Linked DNA regions of Homo sapiens: all the other regions are linked to region 1. The links are contacts of gene promoters, found by promoter capture Hi-C in blood cells and fetal thymus (Javierre and others, 2016). All regions are on one chromosome and are shown on one strand. Each heading gives the region's core, a stretch centred on a gene start or on the middle of the fragment in contact. The rest is flanking DNA. Distances are from core to core; before and after follow the strand shown.

Region 1 (4,490 bases), core at 1,422-3,921:
ATTAGAACTAGTCTTTGTTCCTGCTTTTTAAGTGCTTGACAAAATATTTGATAAAGAGAAAATCTGGAACTACTGTGTAAAATAATATTAACAATAATGCTTATATTATTTCTGCCTCACATTAGAAAAGACTCAAGAGGGATTTGGTACTGTGGGTTCAACTCAAGCATTACCTGTCAGATTCTCCTTTAACCATGATTATGGTTTAGGAGATCGATGACACTTCAGCCTGAGACAGTTCTGAACACCTACTTGGAGCTCTTTCATAGTAAATCATCAGGGAGTGTCACACTTTTTAATTAATTCCCTACATGCATATATGCAGTTCTTTACTAGAGGTTTTTCATGTAGCTTAAGACTCTCCTAGCATTAAATATTTCAGTTATCTCACTACATAGTACACCTGGACACAAAAAATGTAACATTATAAACAGCTACAAAATCATAGACCTGCAACAAATCAGAGTAGGTAATATGAACTTCTTTCATTGTAACACTTGGGCTAAATTTAAATGGTCATAATCAGGTTAGACCTGGCAGCTGAAGGGGGCATTAATGCCTTGTGGTTAAGAACATAAGCTGTGAAGTCAAGATGGGGTTCAATTCCAGCTCCACCAATTACAAGCTGTATAACTTCGGTCAAGTTCTTGATCTATGTCTCACTTTCCTCCTCATCGGTAAAATGGGCAAAACCAAGTACTTACCTCACAGGTTTGAGAATTCATCAAGATTATAAAGAACGACAATAAGCACTCAACTTAGTTATGATTATTACTCTTATCATCAAGATCTACAAAAATCCAAGACTAGTAAGAAAAACTGACCCTTGTGTAAAATTAATTATTCTATTCAGAAATTCTATATACGTAATTTGTTCATTCTAAAGAAACTGAGAAGATCCGACTTCAAACTATAGTTTCAAATGTAGACTTTGTGAAACTTAGTAAAATCTAGAGGTCATAATTTAACTGTAAGGTACACCATCCATGCATATGAACATGAGTGCCTGGTAATTACAGGCCAACAAGTTATACTGGGTACCACTTACGTGCCTAATACCCCACAGATAAAGATTTGTTGTATTTGAGCCTACTGACAAATTCAGAAACCAAGGCCACAATCGTGTACACAACTAGAGATCTACAATCTAAGAACTGAAGCATATCTTTCCCCAAGGTAAAGAAAATATAATCTACTGCTTGTTCATGCAGAAATACAGACATACGTATCATAGGCTCATTGCCCAATTCTACATTCTAGCTAAATTGCTCTAAAAACATATGCCAATCTAAGAGTTACTCAAAGGCACATTTCGCCAACTTGAAATGCAATTCTGACCCATGCTCCTTGTAATTTTATTTTGCCACTGGACGCCAAGGATGCATCTCCGAGTAAAAAAATTACTTAATTCACATTGTGGGATGAAAATTCAAATGTCAAACTGAAACGCCAGCCAGCCACCTGGGTAAAAGTGTATACATTTCATATTGACTACCCAAATTTTCAGACCCGTCAAGAGGCAAATCAGAAGCACACAGAAAAACAGCTTCAACCTAATAAACGTGCTTGATTGGTTAAGAGGAGGCCTGCCAGGCATTTTCCCTTGCAATAAATCTTACTTCGCATCAGCCCACGTTAACCTGCCCTTCATCCTTCATGGAATAAATAAGTAAATAAAGATAGGGCCTAATTACTCCTCGAAATTTGCCCAGAAAGTGGGGAAACACTTGAGGTCCCATTAAGGCTGGACATCACAAAAAGTAGTATACTAGGGTCCTCTGGAAGCAAAACCCTGTGTTAAGTCCCCCCTCGCCTAGAAATAAACCCAAGGATATCCTTCAGGATATGGAGTAGAAAAGATACCTAAATACCTGGAACTGCACCACAACCCAATCAAAAAAAGGCTTGTCTCCTGGGGCTGCAGAAAAAAAATCCCGCAGGGCCCGGGTGCTTCCCATCTCCAGCAACCTAAACGCCTCTAAGTCGTCCTGGGATCTCACATCCTCGCGCCCGCCCACCCCTCCCCCTCTTCTCACCCTCCCCCCGCTTCTTCCCCACGCAGTTTCTAGGCCCAAAGATTAGCAAAAATGACCGGGATACCAAAGACCGCCTCCGACTTCGAGGTCTCAATCCCACAGGCACCAAAGAATAAACAGAGGAGCCCGACCAAGCGTCACCGTTTAGGGGAGATTGCAAGAAGCGCCCCATACCCTAGGCCGCGCCCCCCCCACCTCCCCCCACCCCATCCCCACCCCCACCCCCGTCGGAGCCTTGCGCCGATACCCCGAAACCCTTCTCACCTAAAGAGAAAACGATGCCTCTTTCGGCTAAGCAACACACAGGCCTAACCCACCAAGCGAACGCCTTCCCAAACACCCGACTCAGACGGTGCCTGGGCCCAGACCGCTGGGGCCCATGAGACGGGGTTGCGTTTTACCTCATGGGCTCAGCGGTCATGTTTTCGCTTGAACGCCTTGTCGGCTTCTGTGATTGCTGGGCGCCGATCTGCGCTCCCCCGCGCCCGGTTACGATAGAAATGCACTGGAGTCTTAGTCGTCACTGTAGCTGCTGCTGGAACCTCCCCACAGCTCAAAGGCCGCTACCACTGCCACCGCCGCAGGAGCCGCGGAAACAAAGCGACACCGCTGCCGCCGCCATTTTGTTGGGCCGAGGCTCAGGCAGGAGAATTGGCGCGTCCTCCCTCTTTCTCTTTCCGTCAGCCATTGGCTACCTCCTCCAAAGCACAGAGTCTTATTGGCTACGGAAATTCACCTTCTTTGGGGGCCTGTTGCTAAGGCGGTCGACGTCATTTGATCCCCTCCACCTTTTCGCAGGGGGTCCAATTTAGTCCCAATTGACCTGAAAGTGCTAGTGACATAGTTTGACTTTATTTTGAAAATGCTCTTTTGGTCCAACCTCTTTTTTCTTTGACATATTAACGAAGTAATAACAGCAACCTACATTTATTGAGAGTTTACTATATGCTCGGCACTACACTAATCCTTTATCCGGGTTATCTCATTTAATCTTTACACTCTCTGAGGTAGACAAACCTACATTTTCCAGATGAGGAAACCAAGACACAAAGTCCCACAGTAGTGGAGCCGAGATTCACCAGACACTCTTAACCACTAATCTGTATGGCCATCCTATGTAAGTATTTTCTTTCCTATATGCTAGGCTATCATCAAGTTATTTGCTTTCCTAGATGTTTTATACATAATATTTGGCACACCAACATGCTTGGAAATGTATATGTGTATAATATACTTATATATATGTATATGTGTGCAGACGACATAAGACCAACTTGAACGCTGCATAAAATTCTTTCCATATTGAATAAAGTGTCTCTTAGAATACACACACACACACACACACACACACACACACACACACACACACGGGCCATTTCCCCAATTTGATGTGATGTTTAGCTCACAAACCAATCAATTTAGATCTGCTTCCTTCTCATTACAGAGGAAGCTTGGCTGGATGATCTGTAAATGCCTTTCCCGCTTTTATGATCTATAATTTGATTTTACATTGGTAATCTCTGCTAATCACAAACAAGTCCTCTAAAATCTAATCGCTTCGAAATTTATTTCCAAATTTATTCTGCCATGCATGCTTTAGTTCATTCTATTTATTTTTCTTGAAATATGCAAGAGCTCCTGTCGGGGTTAGGTGACAGGGTTGCTGCTTTCTACTGGGATAGCAAGAGGGGAGCCTTTTTTGAATGAAACACTTTGAAAATCTGATAGGCTCAGGCAACTTTTTTTTTTTTTTTTTCTGAGACAGGGTCTAGCTCTGTCACCCAGGCTGGAGTGCAGTGGCGTGACGCAGTTCACTGCAGCCTCGACCTCCTAGGCTCAAGCAATCCTCCCACCTCAGCCTCTCAAGCAGCTGGGACTGCAGGCGCGTGCCATCAAGCCCAGCTAATTATGTATTTATGTATTGGTATAGATGAGGTAGGTCTGTCTGTTGCCCAGGCTGGTCTCAAACATCTAAGCTCAAGCCATCCTCCAACCTCGACCTCCCAAAGTGCTGGAGTTACAGGGGTGAGCCACCGCGCCTGGCCTCAGGCAACTTTTTAATCAACAGACGCCTGTACACATTGCAATTATATCTTTCAAATGTTTGAGTTCAGTTGGCAATTATAGAAACCAGACCTCTGTACCTGCTATACTGATTTTGTCTTGTACACATTAAATATCATTTCAACATACAATTTACAGGAGTCATTTTTTTCTCCTTGGTAAATGCAGTGAATTTGAATGATGTACTCCATCACAAGGCAGCACAGAAATGTGCTTGCTGTTCAACTGACTTCACTATGAGAAAAATAGTAAATAGTCAACATGTTACCAGGTTATTGGCGTTTCGAACAAGGAATTGGACAAAATGCACAAAGCAAGGAAAGAATGAAGCAACAAAAGCAGAGACACGTTGAAAATGAAAGTACACTCCACAAGACTGCAGGAGCTGCC
Region 2 (3,235 bases), core at 736-3,235, 230 kb after region 1:
TCCTGGGCAATGTAGCGAGACCCTGTCTCTGCAACAAAAATTAAAATAACTAGCCAGGTGTGGTGCCACGCACCCATAGTATTAATCACACGAGAAGCAGAGGTAGGAGGATTGCTTAAGTCCAGGAGTTGAAGGTTACTGTGAGAGAGACCTTGTCTCTAAAACAAACAAACAAACAAACACAATCCTTTCTTTGTGACAGATTCATCCTGTGTTCTTCAATAAGTCTTAAGTGGTAATACATGTGAATGTATTTTAAAAGTTTCAGTATGCTATAGAATTGGTGTTCAAGTGATTTAAAGCATTTTATTAGTTCAGTTAAGATCCTATTTGTATAGATGACATTATCATTACCATTTTTGTGAAACTAGTTTTACTGAGTACCTGCTATGTGCCAGTTACCAAGATTGCAAAGCTTCAACCCTTAATTCCCACAGCAATGTGGTCATATTCATTTTGGAGGTGAGGAAACCCAGGTTAAGAGAAGTTAAGTTACTTATCCAAAGTCACATAGCTAATAACTGTCATAACTGGGATTTGAGCCTAATTACTCTGACTCCAAAAGCTCATGCTTGTTCTATTCACTGTGCACTGCCAACAAATGTAAGATGGCAGCATTTCCCCTAGCAGTTGGAAATGTAATGTGTATTACTATCTATGGTCAGATAAGTCTTGCTTAGGGGTAGTTTCCTTTTTATACTTTGTTTTATTGGGGAAAATGATTTTTGTTCATGTTCTTTTTCTGATAAAACAAGACTAAATACTGCATATGCAAGGCCTTGAATAATATGTTTAGTATGGTGCTAGCTTTTTTTTTTTTTTTTTTTTTTTTTTGGAGACAGAGTCTCACTCTGTCGCCTGGGCTGGAGTGCAGTGGTGCGATCTCAGCTCACTGCAACCTCCGCCTCCTGGGTTCAAGCGATTCTCCTGTCTCAGCTTCCCGAGCAGCTGGGATTACAGGCACCTGCCACTATTTCCAGCTAATTTTTTGTATTTTTAGTAGAGACGGGGTTTCACCGTGTTGGCCATACTGCTCTCGAACTCCTGACTTTGTGATTTGCCCACCTTGGCCTCCCAAAGTGCTGGGATTACAGGCATGAGCCACCGTGCCCGGCCTGGTGCTAGCTTTTATGGCCTATTAATGAGAACCTCTACTGAGGACAGTTGTACTTGAGTTAAACTCTTATATATAGGATACATATTAACTAGCATTAAGGAAATATTTATTTGTTTGATGAAAGATTGGAAACAAATGCAATCAAGAGCAGGAAGCACATCTTCATCTTTGTATTCCCCAGAGTGACTTGCCCTCAGTAATTGAACTGTTCTTAATGACAATACCATGGCTTAGAATTTCTCTATACAATATTTATATGTTCAGTGAAATAATTTTTTTCTCATGAATTTCCTTAGAGCTTAGGTTTTGAAGCTTCTTTGGTCAAGAAGGATCGGTCAGCAAGTCACTTAGATCATAAACGAGAAATAAGACAGTAAGTACTTTGGAGTGTCAGTAAAAAACAGATTTTGACTCCTTATTACAAATTTTTTTTTGCATGTCAGTTTTTATAATATCATCCTTATACTGGATGAAATGGTCACAATGTATATCTCTCTGTAGTATGTAGAATCTTTACCCATTAGCTATTTATGACCATGATTTTTCTTTTTTTATTTTTTCCATATAAGATGGAGACGGTCTTTTCTTGTGAGTCTGTTTTTCTGTATTCCTGTAATGGGGCTGATGATATATATGATGGTTATGGACCACCACTTTGCAACTCTTCACCATAATCAAAACATGAGTAAAGAAGAAATGATCAACCTTCATTCTTCTATGTTCCTGGAGCGCCAGATTCTTCCAGGATTGTCTGTTATGAATTTGCTGTCCTTTTTATTGTGTGTACCTGTACAGGCAAGTGAATTGTTAGCAAATATATTTGTTAATAATAAAAAATAAGCAAAATTTGGCAGGCAAGGTTTATTTTCAGCTACAAAACTGATGTTAGCTAGAAGTCTGATCATTTTATGCCATATGCTTTACAAAAATAATCTTCAACTGGGTAGTTATTTAAGTTGATAATAGATGCCATTTAACCCCTAAGAAAGAGTTCAAGTTTTTTGGGTTTGGTATTTATATCTGCTACTGTATATAACTTTATTTTATTTTTAAATTTTTATTTATCTATTTTTTTTTTTTTAGAGATGGGGTTTTGCTCTGTCACCCAGGCTGGAATGCAGTGGTGTAAGCACAGCTCACTGTGGTCTTGAACTCCTGGGCTCAAGCATTCCTTCTGCCTCAGCATTCTGAGTAGCTGGGACTTCCAGGCACTAGCCACTGCACCCAGCTCAATGACTTTATTTTTGTTATTTCTTCCTGGCACTTCAGTTCATTACTTTCTGTATGTTTTAAACTCTTTTTTCGAGATAAACTTTTACTTTGGAATAGAATACTTCTATCAAATAAATCTTTTCCTTTATCTGATCCTTATAAAAGGCAATAATGATTTTAAAAAACATCTTAGTTTCTCTGTTTTAATGAAATAAGCTTTCCAGTTATATTTACCAACAAAAACGGCCAACAGATTTCGTAGCTTGTGATATACCAGTTAGTTTGAGTTTTGGAAAGATGGGTGAGTTTTATACAAAAAAATCCTTGAGAAAATGTAATTCCTTTCTTAGTTCTTGTTTTTGCTAGCCTCAGAAAGAAAAATCTGCTTGGTGTGATGGCTCATGCCTATAATCCCAGCTACTTGGGAGGCTGAGGCAGGAGGATTGCTTGAGGCCAGGAGTTTGAGACCAGCCTGGGCAACATATCAAGACTGTCTCTTAAAAAAAAAAAAAAAAAAAAGGAAGAAATATCTGATTTTCCTTGTATTATGGAATATCCATTGGATCATAGATGATAGCCCCACAGGCTTGTGCAGCAATTTGAATACCTCCCTCTGCATGTACATCTATTGAAATACAAACACGATTGTTTTGGCTTAATCTCCCTTTAGTGTTTATGGATTAGCTAAAAGCCAAAGAAAGTGACTATTGATACTTTAAGTTATTGAGATATATATGTGAATTTCAGCATTTTTTAAAATTCAATGATTATCATTCCTATATTGCAGTTTTTCGGAGGCTGGTACTTCTACATTCAGGCTTATAAAGCACTGAAGCATAAGACAGCAAATATGGACGTACTGATTGTGCTGGCAACCACCATTGCATTTGCCTACTCTTTGATTAT
Region 3 (4,642 bases), core at 1,009-3,508, 240 kb before region 1:
TATAATCATCATCCCCATATTATGGACGAAACTACTCCCATGGCAAACCAGCATGAGCTGCTAGCTCCTGCCCTCAAAACCAACTCTGCAGAAACTATAGAAGGGAAAAGGCAATATGAATTCCAGAAACTTATAGACAATGTGTGCATATGTGCATGTACACACACACAGACATCCCTGGGGTAACAACTGGCATCATATTTTATCTAAAACATAGTTACTGAAACAGATGAAATAAAGGAAGATATTACCAATATGGAATTCAAACAAATTTAAGAGTCTAAATGAAATATTAGGAAAAAAAAATAACAGTTGAAAAAATAACTCAGTATAAACAGCAAGCGGGGTACAGTTGAATATCTTAGTGAATTAGGAGATAAGACTGAGATACTCTTCCAGAAGATAGTAAGAAAGAATAAAGAAATAGGAATGCAAAAGAAAAGCTAAAAGATATGGAGGCTAGAAGAGCAGGCATTCAGATAGTAACAGTCTCAGAAAGAGACAAAAATAAAAATGCAAAGGATGATATTTTTGAAGAACTAATGGACATACATTTCTCAGAAGTATAATGAAAAAACTGAGGCATAGAAGTCAGATATTTTGACTAAGATAAAGATTCAAACCCTGGTCTTGCCCCAGGACCCCTGTCCTTAACCACTCTGCTACACTGACTTAGGGCTAAGGATCAGTAAGTTCAGCACCAAAGACAATCAAGGAGGACTAGGATCAGCTCTGACACTGTAAGATTGTGTAGTAACTAGATGAAATCCATACCCTCCCCAATATTATACACCTTGATAACACTGTGCCTTTCCATAAACCCACAGTATTGATTAAAACGGTGTAAAGTCATATCAAACCTCAATTTACTTCTCCGCAAGCTTAATCATATAGAATATTAATGTCAGGATAGTATAGTGTAATGGTTAAAGAGTGTGGAGTCTGGAGTCACAGCACTGAGTTCAAGCCCCGGTGCCACCACTTTCCATGCCATAATTTCATCAGAAAATAGAAAAAATTGTACCTGCTTTGTAAGGATTAAATAAGGTAATGCTAGTAAAATCCTTAGCACAGTTCCTGGCATAAACATTGCTCAATAAAGCTTAGATACTGTTTGTTTTTTTAATTCAAAGGTTTAGCTGATAACTATTGTAAAGGCAAATTATACTACTACATACCTTGTACACACAAGAGTGGTAGACCTTGTCAAAAATAGATTCCCAAGGCCTACCTCCAGAAATTCTGATTCAGTAGGTCTTAGATGAAGCCAGGAATCTGCATTTTTTTTTTTTTGAGACAGGGTCTCACTCTGTCACCCAGGCTGGAGTGTAGTGGTACAAACTTGCTCACTGCAGCCTCGACCTCCTAGGTTCAAGGGATCCTCCCAACTCAGTCTCCAAAACAGCTGAGACTACAGGTGCATGCCACCAAGCCTGGCTAATTTTTTGTAGAGACAGAGTCTTGCCACGTTGACCAGGCTGATCCTGAACTCCTGGATTCAAGCAATCCTCCCACCTTGGCCTCCCAAAGTGCTGAGATTAGAGGTGTGTGCCACTGTGTCCGACTAGGAATCTGCATTTTTAATCAAGCCACCAGGTGATTCTCCAAGAAGTACACACAAGGAAAAACACTATTTCAAAGGCATGTCAACTATTGCCTCACAACATTTAGCTTGCAATTTTAGCACAAAAATTCATTTGTTCACATAGCACATTTTTATTGAATACTTGCTATGTGCTATATTATGTATTATGCCAGGTATTGGGGATAGAGTGATGAAGATGCATTAATATAGTTCTTGCCTTCCTAGGCTAATAGGAAGTTCATATTCTAGAGAGAATAGATATTTTAATTTGCCTATAAAGTAAAAAAGCTTACCATTTAATTCATTTATTAAATGAGCATTTATTAAATGCAAACCTGGTATTTTAAATTTCAGGATTTCTATGACCTTAAGCAGCAAATATTTCTAGTACTTCCAACTCTCCATAAGGAGACACTTTTTAAAGTCTATCCTAAACTCTCCCCAATAGAATCTTGCATACCATCCCCAACTCTGCCCTCCACCCCAACACTGCCAGCAAGGCTGCCTTATCTACATTGATGTTTCCATGGACAATTATTTATAAGACAGCTTGCCAGCGTTAGGGAGGCTGCCATCTCAGGGTATCATTGGCTCCATGGTTTCTGTAACCCAAATGTTTTCCCTAAAAGACTTGGTAAATGGCTCCTTAATAGTTTTTCTTGTGTCATAAGGTGGTACAATAAAAAATAAGACAAAACAGCACTATAAATAAAGTATGGTCAGTCTGTTAACAAGTATTTATTGTGTAGTTTGTGGAGGGAAAATAGAAGCATCTCTTTACTTTGGAAAATTACTACAGAAGCATCAGCTGGCTATAAGGTAGACTTTATTCTAAAGTTGCTTATATTATTTAAGAAAAAAAACCCCTTTCAATGTTCTTTGTCAACTGCATGCTAACTTTATTGAAAGTGAAGATCAATATCTAATATATTCCTTCCTGATTACAACTGATCTCTGGGGGAATGCAAGCCTCAAATACCTATGTCTTCTGCAGCTTAGCTGAGATGATCTCCTCTGGCTCCTAAATGTTTTTAGTTTTCTACTGGTCTGTCATATATCAAGCTTAATTTTCTACTCAGGATCAGGACCTCACATGACTCCTCTGAAATTCCAAAAATGTAAGTCCATAAGTATTTCAGAGAAATGAACCTACTATAATGGTAATATTAATAACAATTATGGAAACAAAAACAGCAGCTAACATTTGAACACTTACTATGTGCTAGGTAGTATGTTTACATGAATTACCTCCTTTGTGAGAGAAGTACTGGCACTATTCTTATTTTCTTCAGAAAAATGAGGCTTAGAAAGCTTACATGGTTTGCCTAAGATTACATCTGAAAAGGGTGGTTGGCAAGTTATTTAGGAGAGGGCTTAAACAAGCTGCTCTTTTTACTTGGCATCAATCACCCCAACAAAAAACGAATAGGACACTTTTGTAATCTGCAAAGAAATGGTAGAATTCAAACAATTTTTCTGATGCCCGTTATTTTTTCTGGTGGTCTATTCATATACAGATGAATAACAATCATTTTATACTAGTAAATACAAAGATAGGAATAATATTCAAACTTGTTTTATTAAACAAAAAAATCCAAAACCTGTGATTAAAAAAAAGGCAAAGAAGTAGGAGACAATGACATCAAACCTTATATATGCTTCAATTATGAGCATGGCTTCCTAGAAGAATATGACAACAAATATTAGGTTCACATACCACCATGTGGTTCATACCCCATAGGCTACTAACACTTGCTCTACAATTAAATGTGTTATTTTGAACCTTTATTCTCAAAAGTAAATGTAGGCAGGTTACCAGAAAGTTCCTGAAATAAGTGGATTAGCTATTTCATACTTTACATCAAATTATTTTAATGGAATGTATTTCACACTGGTATTAAGAATGACTAAGGTGAAACCTTATATTACCATCTGCCGGCTAATAAAACTGTACAATAACATCTCTGTTCAGTAAATTATGCTTTGAAGTATTAAAGTTTGAATACAGGACTAAAGAAAGGGGAGAACACTGCACACAAATTCAGCGTAGAGAAAACAAACCTAAAGCCTCACTTAAGATACTTTAATTTAAATCCCCATTTTGTTCTCCCTGTAATCATCAAGTAGTTCACATTTAAAAAGACATACGTAGTCCAGTGCTGGAAAAGGGAAGTATAAAAACATTTCTATGCCAGTTTTATTGGCTTTTGTTTTCTTAATAAAAGGTACAGAGTAGGCTGTGTATACTGTACTTAAGAGGAACAAAACACCCACTTAAGCATATTATAAAATATAACCTTGGCTGCAGGTGGTGACTCATGCCTGTAATCCCAGCACTTTAGGAGACCGAGGTGGGTCGATCACTTGAGGCCAGGAGTTCGAGACCAGCCTGGCCAACATGGAGAAAGCCCATCTCTATGAAAAATACAAAAATTAGCCAGGCGTGGTGGCGCATGCCTGTAATCCCAGCTACTCAGGTGGCTGAGGCACGAGAATCACTTGAACCCCAGAGGCGGAGGTTGCAGTGAACTGAGATTGCAGCACTGCACTCCATCCTGGGTGACAGAGTGAGACTGTCTCAAAATAAAATAAAACATGACCTTGACCAAAATTTTCATCTCTGATATCTGTATAATTAATAAGTTTATTACCAGAAAAGGTACTTTCTCTAACATAATTTACATAAATGTTAACAGGTTAGCTATCAATTTAACATTTACATAAACGTTAACAGAGGTTAGCTATTAATTTAACATTTTAAACACAAGCCATTAAGAATAAGTTAACAAATCGGTATTGCTAGAAACTTGTGTTAAACTACTTATAAGTCTAGATCATGCTACAGTTTCAAAATGGCTGAGAAACATTATCCTGAACAACTAAAAAGATGCACAGATACTTGGTAGAGATGATTCAGGAGGCCCTTAAATCAACTTATTAAAAAATAGGTTCACAGGACGTCAAGGCTATTATATTTCCAAAAGGGAAAAGCAGCAACAGTAAGAATCCAATGAGGGGATTTAAAATAATAAAGTGGACAGGCATAGTGGCTCATGC
Region 4 (4,537 bases), core at 1,564-4,063, 240 kb after region 1:
TATTCTTCTCATATGAACATGGTACATTCCCTAACATTGATCATCGGCTTGATCATAAAGCAAGTCTCAATAAATTAAAAAACAACTAGATCAGATCAAGCGTCTTCCTAGACTCCAGTGGAATAAAATTAGAAATCAATACCAAGAGGAACTCTAAAAGCCACACAAGTACAGGGAGACTAAACAACCAACTCCTGAATAACTTTTGGGTAAACAATGAAGTTAATGCATTTCGGCCGGGCGCGGTGGCTCATGCCTGTAATCCCAGCACTTTGGGAGGCCGAGGCGGGTGGATCCCCTGAGGTTGGGAGTTCAAGACCAGCCTGGCCAACATGGTGAAACCCTATCTCTACTAAAAAATACAAAAATTAGCCAGGCATGGTGGCACGCACCTGTAATCCCAGCTACTTGCGAGACTGAGGGAAGAGAATTGCTCGAACCCAGGAGGTGTAGGTTTCACTGAGCCTAGATCACGCCATTGAACTGCCGCCTGGGCAACAAGAACAAAACTCCGTCTCAAAAAAAAAAAAAAAATCTCTGTTCCTGATGACATGATTCTATACCTAGAAAACCATAAAGATTTCTCCAAAAGACTCCCAGACCAGATAAACTACTTCAGTAAAGTTTCAGGGTATAAAATCAACATGCAAAAATTATTAGCATTTCTATACACCAGCAACGTCCAACTCGAGAACTAAATCAAGAACTCAATCCCATTTACAATAATCACACACAAAACATACCTAGGAATACATTTAACCAAGGAGGTGAAAGATCTCTACAGAGAGAAGCATAAAACACTGATGAAAGAAACTGAAGAAGACACAAACAAATGGAAAAACATTCCATGCCCATGGATTGGAAGCATTAATATTAAAACTACCATACTGTCCAAAGCAATCTATAGATTCAACACAATTCCTATAAAACTAATGTCCTCTGTCACAGAATTAAAAAAGCAATCCTAAAATTCATATGGAAAAAGAACCTAAATAGCCAAAGCCATCCTAAGCAAAAAGAATAAAACTAGAGGCATCACATTACCTGACTTCAAATTATACTGCAAGGCTATAGTAATCAAAAGCATGGTATTGATACAAAAATAGACATGTAGATCAATTGAACAAAATAGAGAACCCAGAAATAAAACCACACACCTACAACCAACTGATCTTCAACAAAGTTGACCAAAACAAGCAATGGGGAAAGGACACCCTATTCAATATATGATATTATTATATGGGATTACAGACATGAGCCACTGTGTCCAGCCCACTACTGTAATATTAAAAAGTTTCTTTAAGTGATTCATGTCTGTTTAGTACACACTGAACAAAAGGATTGTTGGGAAGTTTTTTTGGTATTTATTTATTTATTTATTTATTTATTTATTTATTTATTTATTTTTGAGACAGGGTCTCGCTCTGTTGCCCAGGCAGGAATGCAGTGGTGCAATCATGGCTCACTGCAGCCTCAAACTTCTGGGCTTAAGCGATTCTCTTACCTTAGCCTCCCGAGTAGCTGCAACTGCAGGCATGCACCACCATCCCTGGCTAATTTTTTTTTTTTTTTTGAGACCGAGTTTCGCTCTTGTCACCCAGGCTGGAGTGCAATGGCATGATCTCGGCTCACTGCAACCTCTGCCTTCCAGGTTCAAGCAATTCTTGTGCCTCAGCCTCCCAAGTAGCTGGGATTACAGGCATGTGCCACCATGCCCAGCTAATTTTTGCATTTTTAATAGAGACGGGGTTTCACCATGTTGGCCAGGCAGGTCTCGGACTCCTGACCTCAGGTGATCCACCTGCCTTGGCCTCCCAAAGTGCTGGGATTACAGGCGTGAGCCACTGTGCCCGGCCATACCTGGCTAATTTTTCACAAATTTTTTTTGTAGAGATGAGGTCTTACCATGTTGCCCAGGGTGGTCTCAAACTCCTGGCCTCAAATGATCCTCCTGCCTTAGCCTCCAAAAGTACTGGGATTACAGATGTGAGCCCGTGCACAGACCAGCAAGTAGCTTGGAATGTGTTTCCTTCAGGAATTTTTCTCATGAGTTCAGGATGTCTTAGATTTCTTCTAAAACTACCAATTATATTTTTCCCACATGAGCAAACACTGAACGTCACTAAGAGCTTAATTAGCAGATATACTTGGTTCACATTGTTATGTCCAAAAGGATTTTGTTGAAATATGACTAAGGTCCCTTTGCATGCCATGTGATTCTTTTTCATTGTCTTTCAAGAATAGTGTGAAAGGCAGAATTATGGTTTTACTCTACAGAGATTGAGAATTCTGTTTATTCAGTATCAAATTTTTTGAAAATTATGTCTCACATTTGCAGCTATTTCTGAAAATTTCTAATAAAAACATTCATTCTCAATATGGAGCACTTATATTCAGTCCATAGTTTGTAATTCTGGAATCTCAGTATGTCCCAATTTCTTATATTCATAAAAGAAAGAAAGTGTTTTCTTACCTGTAACTAAAAAATATATGTAGGTAGCTAGGTAGGATATGTCACTTTTTAAATTGTGGTTTTATTTAAATAGTGTTAAGTTTTGTGTCTTTTGTTTTGTACAGCTCTAAATCAATAACCAAAATTTATGCCTTTCTTCTAAAGGGCTACAATAGAAGTATCTCCCGAACAGAAACGATAATACGATTTGCTTTCCAAGCCTCTATCACAGTTCTGTGTATTGCATGTCCCTGTTCACTGGGACTGGCCACTCCAACTGCTGTGATGGTGGGTACAGGAGTAGGTGCTCAAAATGGCATACTAATAAAAGGTGGAGAGCCATTGGAGATGGCTCATAAGGTAAGACAGTCCCCAGAACTAAAACCTGTACCACCAAACTATCAATAGCACCCCTCACATGTGAGAAACACATACTCCTAAATTATTTCTCTGTGGTCCATGAGCTGAGCTGCTTCTAGGACTATCCAGAGATTTGAGGTAGGAAAGGTGTTATTTTGGTTCTGCTTCAGATTGGCCTTTGTTACCTAAGATTCCTAAAACTACTCCAGGCCTATTTATTAGAGCAGACCCTAATGTGGAAAACCTGGACTCCTATCCTAGCTCAGACTAGACTAGTCTTTGTGGCAGAAAGACAGAATAGGTGTTTGCCCAGGAAAATTTGCCAAACTCCAGCAGCCTTCTAACCTATTTGTGTGTGACTTGTTTTCTTCACTGGGACCTTCAATTGCAGTGCCGTTTCTTTGCCTTTGCTGCCACCAGCCGACAGTTTGCAGCTATGACTTTAGGAATATAATCCTATCTCTGATCTCATATTAGGATTTCCATAATCATCTCAAAGCTACTTGACTTCAACTAAAACCATGTTTCTACTAGTATGTTCTTATTATGAGGATGTAAGCTATGTACAGAGGTATATAGTAAACATAGAACATATCTTAGAACAAATCTGGAAACTCACCTCGCCAGAGAATACAGGCTAGTAATTTTTATAGACATTTTAAACTTTGATATAATTTCAAACTTAAAAGTCGCAAGACTAGCCTGGCACAGTGGCTCACGCCTGTAATCCCAGCACTTTGGGAGGCTGAGGCAGGCGGACCACGAGGTCAGGAGTTTGAGACCAGCCTGACCAACATGGTGAAACCCCGTCTCTACTAAAAATACAAAAATTAGCTGGGCGAGTTGGCACACCTGTAATCCCAACTACTCAGGAGACTGAGGCAGGAGAATCGCTTGAGCCCGGAGGGCAGGGGTTGCAGTGAGCTGGGATCGCGCCACTGCACTCCAGCTTGGGCGACTGAGCAAGACTCCATCTCAAAAAAAAAAAAAAATGTTGCAAGACTAGTACAAAGAACTCCTATATGCCCTTTACTGCAGTCGTTGGGCTCTTTTCCTAAGAATAAGGACATTCTCTTATGTAAACTGTAGTACAACTATCAAAATCAATAAATTAATATTGATATGTTGTTATCTGATCTGTAGTCCATGTTCCAGTTTCCTCAGTTGTCTCAATAATGTGCTTTATAGCTATTTTTCCCCTGTCCAGAATCATACTTTGTTGGTTTATTTTTCTTTTCTTTCTTTCTTTCTTTTTTTTTTTTTTTGAGATGAAGTCTCGCTCTATGGCCCAGGCTGGAGTGCAGTGGTGCGATCTCGGCTCACTGCAACCTCCACCCACCAAGTTCCAGCGATTCTCCTGCCTCAGCCTCCCGAGTAGCTGGGATTACAGGCATGCACCACCATGCCCAGCTAACTTTTTATTATTAGTAGAGACGGGGTTTCACCATGTTGGCCAGGCTGGTCTCGATCTCCTGACCTCAGGTGATCCATACACCTCAGTCTCTGAAAGTGCTGGGATTATAGGCTTGAGCCACCGCACCTGGCCATTTACCTTTATTCTTATAATCATTTCCCTACTGCTTAGATTTCCTCATCAGATCTATAATTCATTATATTGAAAGCCTTTCTTTTTTACCTTGAGGCACTAGAGGCGTCTCTTAATTACCTATTAACAGTCAACCCTTAAAAATTAGCTCTAGTTGTTTAACATATATTCACAGTTAT

What was found. The method cuts DNA at HindIII sites, captures the fragments that hold promoters and counts their contacts. A CHiCAGO score of 5 or more calls a contact.
Region 2: a fragment that was not itself captured here is called in contact with the fragment with the promoter of ATRX in region 1 in 3 of 17 cell types (total B cells, neutrophils and naive CD8 T cells); the score reaches 7.7 in total B cells.
Region 3: a fragment that was not itself captured here is called in contact with the fragment with the promoter of ATRX in region 1 in 1 of 17 cell types (monocytes); the score reaches 5.2 in monocytes.
Region 4: a contact is called between a fragment that was not itself captured here and the fragment with the promoter of ATRX in region 1, in 6 of 17 cell types (naive CD8 T cells, naive CD4 T cells, total B cells and 3 more). The highest score is 6.5, in naive CD8 T cells.

The regions. Positions count from the first base shown.
Region 1 is chrX:77,783,545-77,788,034 of GRCh38, forward strand. ATRX (ATRX chromatin remodeler) reads right to left here and starts at 2,672. Exons shown (of 35, transcript NM_000489.6): 1 at 2,438-2,672. The coding sequence starts at 2,457. RefSeq lists a silencer at 2,286-2,335 and enhancers at 2,436-2,545, 2,556-2,745. The HindIII fragment of the contact is 7,766 bases long and covers 1-3,484 here.
Region 2 is chrX:78,009,763-78,012,997 of GRCh38, forward strand. ATP7A (ATPase copper transporting alpha) reads left to right here. Exons shown (of 23, transcript NM_000052.7): 8 at 1,414-1,490; 9 at 1,687-1,912; 10 at 3,117-3,235. Among named protein-coding and RNA genes, the nearest start is that of PGAM4, 42 kb to the left of the region's middle. The HindIII fragment of the contact is 1,116 bases long and covers 1,428-2,543 here.
Region 3 is chrX:77,545,218-77,549,859 of GRCh38, forward strand. All of the region lies in intron 30 of ATRX (ATRX chromatin remodeler), which reads right to left. Among named protein-coding and RNA genes, the nearest start is that of FGF16, 100 kb to the left of the region's middle. The HindIII fragment of the contact is 774 bases long and covers 1,872-2,645 here.
Region 4 is chrX:78,026,633-78,031,169 of GRCh38, forward strand. ATP7A (ATPase copper transporting alpha) reads left to right here. Exons shown (of 23, transcript NM_000052.7): 15 at 2,618-2,812. Among named protein-coding and RNA genes, the nearest start is that of PGAM4, 59 kb to the left of the region's middle. The HindIII fragment of the contact is 7,213 bases long and covers 1-4,537 here.